Regions from separate parts of the Homo sapiens genome. Here regions 2 and 3 are each linked to region 1. Evidence: promoter capture Hi-C in human tissues and cell types (Jung and others, 2019). All regions are on one chromosome and are shown on one strand. The core of a region is centred on a gene start or on the middle of the fragment in contact, and the rest is flanking DNA. Distances in the headings are between cores, read along the strand shown.

Region 1 (2,552 bases), core at 15-2,514:
GAGAGGGTGGCCCAGGTGAGCAGGAAGCATCATGCCTCTGCCTCATCCTGGAGGTCCTGGAGTCAGCCCAGTTCTCTTCCCATCTTTACACTCAATTCCAGTACAGAACTCAGAGCCCGCTCAGCCAGGACCTGCTCGAAAACCAGGCAGTTCCTAGAAGCATGGGGAGAAGAGGCTGACTTTGATCTTGGAAAATGAAGAGGATCTTGTCTCCAACTCCTTTCTCCCTTCCTATACCCATGCCTCATCCCCAGAGCACTTGCCAATGTGCAATACATAGCCAGGAGTCTGAATAAATAGTCAAAGTCTCCCAAATACTGTGCTCTGGGAGAGGAGACAGGCAGGTGCGGAAATCCAGGCGGCATCAAAGGAAAAGCCTGGTAGAAGAGCCACCTGGGGAAGCCTTTCCTGGCCCAAAGCCGGGCTTGGAAGGGCAGCGAGAAGTCCTGCCCACCAGACTCGGAAAGCTTTGGGGGCAGGAGGGCTGCTGGGGCCTGACTCCTGCCAGCCAGTCTGGAGGACGAGGGTCCTCACTATGGCACCCGGCTTCCGGACGCAAACCTTGTACAAGGAGGGAGGTGACTTGGTGAGAACTGGGAGTGGCCAGCTGCCCCTGCTCAGGGTACACCTGCTCCAGCCCTGGGAACAGCTCAGGCAGGGGTCAGAGAAGGCCCTGCACCTCCCTCAGCCCGCAGCGGGTGGAGGGGTACACAGAGGCACAGACATGGCCCTCCTGGAACTGGCAGGACCCAGGGCCTTTAAGCTCAGCTACCCCTGGCCCCAGAGAGGCTTCCTCGGGCCCCACTTGCCCTTTGTGGGACTCACTCAACCCAACCCTGGGTTGGGACCTGGAAGCCGAGGGAATGACAACTCTTCTGAAGCAATGGGTTCCGACCCTGGGCTCAGAATCAAGGTCCTTTTCTTTTCGGACAGGAGGGCCTCTGGGGGAACCTCCAGAAAAACCAGCTCCCCCTCTTCCTTCTCCCTCCCTGGGCAGAAAGCAGGGGCAGGAGGCTCAAAGCTTCATCCTTACTCAGCAGCATTTGGTTTCCAAGATTTCTGTGTAGGGAACGGGTTCAGAACCCTCTAAGTGAGGCACGGAGGACTCCCTCCCAGTTGGGAGGACCTAGGAGCCAGGGCTGGGGGATGGGAACAGGAGGCAAAGGCCAAGCTTGACCTCCAGGGGCCTTGCTGAGCCAGTCTCCTCATCTGTCTCCCAGGTTCAGGGGAGCAGAGGCAAGCGGGGAGAGGAGGTGGCTCAGGATAAGGCACCCCAACAGAGAAGGGCAGGGAGAGTAATGGAGAGAGGAATCATGAAGCAAGACACAGTCCCACTCTGGGAAGGAGGTGGAAGGAGACAGGCAGAGAGGTAGAGACAGAGAAGGAGGGGCTGGGAGACCTGGAGGCCTGAGAGACCCTCACTCCCTAACACACACACACACACACACACACACACACACACACACACACACACACGGAGAAGATGCCTGGGGACTTGGGCCCACATTCACACCGACCGACTACAGACATCTGTGGGTGAGACAGACGGCAGGACTCAGCTTTCAGTGTCGCCTTCCCTGTGGAGCAGCCGAAGTGCCCCGCTCAGAAGCGGTTTCTGGCCCATTGGCCAAGCACCTCCCCTGAGTGGAGCCCAGGAGAAGACCAGAAGCAGGAACTGAGGCTGGGGCGGCAGAGCCGAGGCAGGGAGGGGCCCCTGCCAGCCTCCCAGTGCCAGAAACGGCCCTGGCCCAGGAAGGACAACTTCCCGAGCTCCAGCCCTCCTCAGTATCCTGGGCAAAGAGGGCAGAGTGCAGGGCAGGTGGGGAGCTGGGCGTGGCGGCAGAAGGAGCACGGCACAGTGTGTCCCCAGTGGGCATGGCCTGGGTCTCGGGCCGATCCTGTGGCTTCCCCTCAGGCTGGGTTCCTACAGGTTTCTATGTGTCCCGGGAGCCAGGGCACAGGGTCGGGAGGCTTCTCTCCGGAACATGGGCCTCTTGCCGCCGGGCTACTTTGAGTCTTGGAGCTCCTTGGCTTTCTGCAGGATCTGGCAGACATCTGTGATGGGGTAGTCCTGGGCACAGGAAAAGGCCAACAGTTGCCTCTGAAGCCACTTCACCCCTGCCACACCCACACCCTCCCTGCTGGGACCCGTTGCCATGCTGGATCCTGGGCCTCAGGGGCAGGAGCACAGAACACCAGGCATCCCACACTCCCCAACCCCCAGACCCCTGCATGCAGCTGACGCTACACCATGCAGCACCAACTCAACGATCCAAACACAACCACTCCCAGGCTCTTGCGGCCCTTTCCTCAGGACCAGACCGTGCTGCCTCAGCTCTCCCACTACTGCCACTGAACCCGAGCTCCCTCGTGTGGAGCCAGTAGGACTGGGCCAGTGTCTGAGCATCAGCGCGAAGTCCCAACAGCCCTGTGAGTGGCCACTGTGATTCTGCACTTTTTCCAGATCTGGTCCATGAAGTTAGGGAAAAGCAACTCTAGGCTGGGCTTGGTGGCTCACACCTGTAATCTCAGCACTTTGGGAGGCTGAGGTG
Region 2 (2,552 bases), core at 20-2,519, 390 kb after region 1:
GAAGAGCTGCTGCTTTCCTCCACCCCCAGGTTGTAATAAGGACCAAACCATGCTCTAAGCGTCCCTAAGAATGCAGATGGGTCCAAGCTCTGCTGTCATGGGGCACAGCCTCCCCTCTCCTGGGGAAGGGGCCCCCATAACAGAGGTGGGGGTTTAGCCAAGTGCCCAGGTTTTGGGTGATGCTGCCCCTTTAAGCCAATTCCCCAGAAATGAAGACTACGTGTCAAGTCTTACAGGGGTGGGAACTAACAAACTCCCAAACTGTGGTAATTGTGGGCGGCCTCCCCAGGCCAGGGCTCCACCCCCCCAGCCCAACTGTGGTGTGTTGAAGAGGGTGGCTTGTCATTTTTCTCAGTTTACCCCCAACCTCAGCCAGGGACTCCTCCCTGTTCTGGTGTCTACAGACCAGGGGTTGTGGCCTTCGATCCCAGTGCCCTGGGGGTACAGAGATGCCAGAGGGGAGAGGCTCCAGGAAGGGGGACTGCCCTTGGCTGACAGGATCCCGCCCCTCTACCAAGATCTACCAAGAGAGCTGGCCCCAGCACGGGGGCGGTGGGGGGGCCGGTCTGACTCCCCTGCACAGCCCGGAGCCCAGTGCTGATGGCACCCCCAACCTGTGCCCGGAAGCCTCCAGCGTGGTCGATCCCTGCCACGTTGGGCCCCAGTGGACTTCAGAGGTTCCTGTCTGCTCCTCTTCAAATCCAGCCAACCACAGGTCCCACTGGGGTTGAGCTGGGCCCTGAAGGCTGGGGTGAAAAGGGCTGGCTGGGCCCAACCTACACCCAGGGAAGGCCCCAAGAGGAAGGAGTAGGGGACCAGAAGGAGGGGTGGGTGTCCCGCGTCGGCCTGTGGCCTCAGAGGTCTGTCGTCTCCCAGCAGGGGGCTCGGGGTCCTCTCTGGCGGCTCGGGCTGGCAGGGCCGTCTGTGAGGGGAGGGGCCTGTCTAGGTGGTGTCTGGGCAGGGAGCGAGCAGACAGGGCCGCCGGGGGCGGGGGCCATCTGCGAAGCTGGGGGTTAGGTGCCCACTCGGTGCCAATGCCCGGGTCTCTCACCAGAGGGCCATCCTGGCCCGGGGGTAGTCCAGCCGCTCCAGAGCGCCCAGGTAGTGGGGCAGCGAGTGTTCGGCATTGCGGGCCAGGATGGCAAGGACCACGGCGGGCAGCGGCGACTCCGCAACGCCCGCAGCCTCCAGCCACGGCCCCAGCAGGAGCAGCAGCTGGAGCAGCGGCGCGGCGCGGGCAGCGCGCATGGCGGGCGCTTGGGCGGCTGCAGCGGCCCCCGGAGCTCTCGGGCCGGCCGAGGGGAGGGGGCGGGGCCTGGGGCCCGGGCGGGGCCGAGGCAGACCCGGAGAGGGCGGGGCAGTGCACCCTCAGAGTGGGATCCTGCTCCCCACCCCTGTGCGTGGATGCTCAAGTTTTCTCTCCTTGGCCCGGGGCACCGGAGGGCCAGGGCCCGGGGACCCGCGCCAGCCGCGACCCTGGAGCAGCCCCGCCCGGCTGGACCCCGGAGGGGCGACGGCGGAGGGGCCGGAGGACCGGACAGGGGAGGGGTGCTAGGACGAGTGCGTCGGGGCCGGCCGGGCGTCCGAGAACAGTAGGGGCTCATGGAACCCCTGGGCGTTGAACCCCCGGAATCCGGATTCCCCGGCCCACGCAGCCGACTCTTCGACCTGAGCCGCAGACCCAGAGGGGCGGCGCCCACTCGGCCACCACCTCCCGGGCTTCCCCGGCTCCCGCCCCATCCTCCGCCCCGGGCGCCCTCTGGCGGCCCTGGCGCTAGCTCCGCAGACCAGCCGGGCCACGCGTGGGCCGGAGACCCAGCGTGGGGGGCGCAGAGGGAGTCCCCCTGAGCTGGGCGCGTCCTCCCGCGGCGGTCCGCTCCTTAAGTCCCCTGTGCGTCACCTCCTTGCGTCGGTCGCCAGCACCCGCATTGCTTCGGCCCTTTAAGAGAGCACAGCCAGGCCGGGCGTGGTAGCTCACGCCTGTAATCCCGGCACTTTGGGAGACCGAGGCGGGAGGATCACCTGAGATCAGTTCAAGACCAGCCTGGCCAAGATGGTGAAATCCCATCTGTACTAAAAATACAAAAATTAGCCGGGCGTCGTGGCGGGTGCCTGTACTCCCAGCTACTTGGGAGGCTGAGGCAGGAGAATCGCTTGAACCCGGGAGGCGGAGGTTGCAGTGAGCCGAGATCGCGCCACTGCACTACAGCCTGGATGACAGACCGAGACTCCGTCTCAAAAAGAAAAAAAAAAAAAGAGCACAGCCCTCACAGCCCTCTCTTGGTCTGAGTGTAGAACTAGGGGACACCACGGAGCTGCTCACTGCGACCCGACCCGTCCGTCCTCCAAAGCAGGGGATGTTGGCTCCCCTGGAGCACCGCCGGGGTCCTTAGGACCCTGCTGGGAGGGAAAGAACTCTGCAGCCTCTCGGGAGAGGAGCAGAAAAGGGAGCGGCCTGGCGGCACCACAGATGGGATCGAACTGGGTGTCTGTCACCAACCTCAGACAGGTCCCTTTCCCTCAGGAGCCTCTCGGGTAAAATCGGGCTGATA
Region 3 (2,552 bases), core at 28-2,527, 350 kb after region 1:
GGAGAAGGGTGGAAGCTTTGGGGTTGGCAGTTGGATGAAAACTTGGGAGGCGCTCCTCTACTGTCCAAGTCGCACAGCAACTGTCCTGCCAAAGTAGGGGGAAATAGTAGAGGCTGAGCGACCTGGGGGCAGAGGGGAGGAAGGGGAGGGGACGGGGCAGAACCGCGAGGGAAAGGACCACCGCGCCCGGGTCCCACGCGGAGGACTGCCGGTGGCTACCGGGGGAAACCTGAGGCGCCGGCGGACGTGCGGAGAGGGCGGGTGAGAACCGCTCGGCCCCAAGTGGGCCCCAGAGGGCCAGAACCGCGCAGGGAGCCGCGGGGATGCTGGGGCGGGGCCGGACAACTGTCTCCTAGGAGAAGGGGCGTTACGGAAGAACAGATGCCCGAGAGGACCAATAGTGTTTAAAGGAGGGAGGCGCGGAGGTTGCACGGGCCCCGGGCGCCCCGCCGCGAGGGAAAACCGAACAGAGTTCTGAGCAGGATAGACGCCGGGCTGGGAGGGGGCGGGCGGGACCCCCCCCCGCCGGGCGAGGGCCCTGGCAAGCCGGAGACGGTGCCCGGGGGACAGCGCTGCCTACGGAGGGCGTACAAGTGACTGCCATGTGGAGGCCCGAGGAGAGGACGAGGCGGTCGGGGCGATGCCGCCGACGGGCAGCAGAGCGAGGGAGAGCCTCTGTCGGCGGAGAGAAGGGACGGCCACCCACCAGCAGGCAGGAGGGTACCGGTTTCTGCCCATAGAGAGAAAGGTGAAGCCCTGCCCGCGGGCGGCAGAGGAGGGGCAGAGCCCCGTGGTAGCCAAGAGAGGAAGGAGGCGGCCGACCGCCCGTTAGCGGGAGGAGGAGAGGCCCCGCGCCGGTGGGCGGGGCGGGGGCCCAGGTTCTGACAGGAGGGGGACGAGCGCAACGCGGCGGGGAACCCAGGACCCGACGGCCCCGCGGGGTCGACCGCGCCGGGGGTGCGAAGGCGACGGTCTCGCCCGCGGTGCCCCGGAGGGCGCTGGATCCCGCCTGCCGGCGGCCTCTCACCAGGAGCGACACGGCTGCGCCCAGAAACGCCGCCTTATGAAGTCGTTGAAGTCGGAGGCCAGGGTCGTGCCATGGAGACGCCGCGGCGGATGCAGTCTGGCTCTGGCAGCGGCTCCTCCCCGCTTCCGCCTCCTTTTCCGACACCCGGTCGGCAGCTCGCCCATTGGCCAGTTCAAACCCCCCCGGGAGCCGCTTGGGTTTCGCCATCGAGGCCCAGCCCCTAGCGTCACAGAGATGCCCCGCCCCGCCAGAAGGGCCGCCCACTTCCGGGCCACGCGTCCCGTCACCAAGGAGACGTGCTACGCGTCCAGCGGGCCTGGCCGGGTCTCGCCCCCCATTCAAGGCCTTTCCCGCTCGGCCCTGTTTCCCCTGCCTTGGATCCTCCCGGATTCCCCTCACTCAAAGGAGCGTACGGTTCCGACGCCCTCCCCTCGGTACCCACCAGGAAACTAGGCTCACAGAGGACCCATGGAACTAGTTATTGGGAGCTGCACACTGCCTCCGAAAATCCAGCCCTGCCCCTAGTCCACTATTAATGCGGAGATGGAGTCGGCTTCTGCGCATTCCCCGGCCTCTCCCCTGCCCACATCGCCTCTGTCTTGGCCCCAACAGGAGAAAGGGTCGGCATTCCCCTTGCTGTTCTGTTCACTACCTTCCTGCACTTTTTTTTTTTTTTTTTTTTTTTTTTTTTTTTTTTTTTTTGAGACAGATTCTTGCTCTGTTGCCCAGGCTGGAGTGCAGTGGCGCGATCTCGGCTCACCGCAACCTCCGCCTCCCGGGTTCACGCCATTCTCCTGCCTGAGCCTCCCGAGTAACTGGGACTACTGGCGCCCGCCACAACGCCCGGCTAATTTTTTTTTGTATTTTTAGTAGAGACGGGGTTTCACCGTGTTGGGCAGGATAGTCTCCATCTCCTGACCTCATGATCCACCCGCCTCGGCCTTCCAAAGTGCTTGTATTACAGGCTTGAGCCTCCGCGCCCGGTCTACTACCCTCCTGCACTCTCTATGCCGCTCTGTGTACAGACCTATTCTGATGAGGTCCTTGCTGGTCCGCCATCTTCTCAATTATGCTTCACTGTCAGCCAGTCAGGGGAGGTCTGTCACGTGGCTCATAATGCCGCCCTGGAATCTGGGAGACCTGAACCACCTCCGGGCCAACTGGGCCACAGTCCCTTGACCTTTCTCCAGTGACCCCGCAGCACCTTAGCCACACAGCTCCAGGGTCACACAAGTGTTTCACCTGCAATCCTAAAGTCAGACTCGCAAACAAAACCTGCTTTTCCGCCTCGCTTTCACAGTATACTGCATACTGAATTTGTTCTGTAATGTCAGGGAGCTCCCCAATCCCTTGATCCATTCATTGTCTCTCTGTTGAATAATTGATAGATTTCCTAATCCTCATTAACCATTTAAGACTGCGGTGGCTCACGCCTGTAGTCCCAGCACTTTGGGAGGCTGAGGCAGGCGGATCACCTAAGGTCAGAAGTTCAAGACCAGACTGCCCAACATAGCGAAACCCCGTC

The links. Contacts are between HindIII fragments. The study calls those that stand out against the background at their distance.
Region 2: a contact is called between the fragment with the promoter of CERCAM here and a fragment that was not itself captured in region 1, in 4 of the 25 tissues and cell types used here (dorsolateral prefrontal cortex, hippocampus, lymphoblastoid cells and 1 more).
Region 3: the fragment with the promoter of ODF2 here is called in contact with a fragment that was not itself captured in region 1 in 2 of the 25 tissues and cell types used here (dorsolateral prefrontal cortex and spleen).

What each region holds. Positions count from the first base shown.
Region 1 is chr9:128,807,333-128,809,884 of GRCh38, reverse strand. TBC1D13 (TBC1 domain family member 13) reads right to left here. Exons shown (of 12, transcript NM_018201.5): 12 at 1-2,071. The coding sequence ends at 2,006. Among named protein-coding and RNA genes, the nearest start is that of ENDOG, 9.9 kb to the left of the region's middle. The HindIII fragment of the contact is 3,371 bases long and covers 1-2,552 here.
Region 2 is chr9:128,419,574-128,422,125 of GRCh38, reverse strand. It overlaps CERCAM (cerebral endothelial cell adhesion molecule), which reads right to left and starts at 1,269. Exons shown (of 13, transcript NM_016174.5): 1 at 1,052-1,269. The coding sequence starts at 1,248. RefSeq lists an enhancer at 534-723 and a silencer at 984-1,883. The HindIII fragment of the contact is 34,497 bases long and covers 1-2,552 here.
Region 3 is chr9:128,454,731-128,457,282 of GRCh38, reverse strand. ODF2 (outer dense fiber of sperm tails 2) reads right to left here and starts at 1,277. Exons shown (of 21, transcript NM_001351578.2): 1 at 1,028-1,277. The coding sequence starts at 1,191. RefSeq lists silencers at 125-174, 385-534, 565-664, 795-1,104 and enhancers at 1-731, 1,325-1,374, 732-1,467, 1,505-1,594, 1,468-2,204. The HindIII fragment of the contact is 20,941 bases long and covers 1-2,552 here.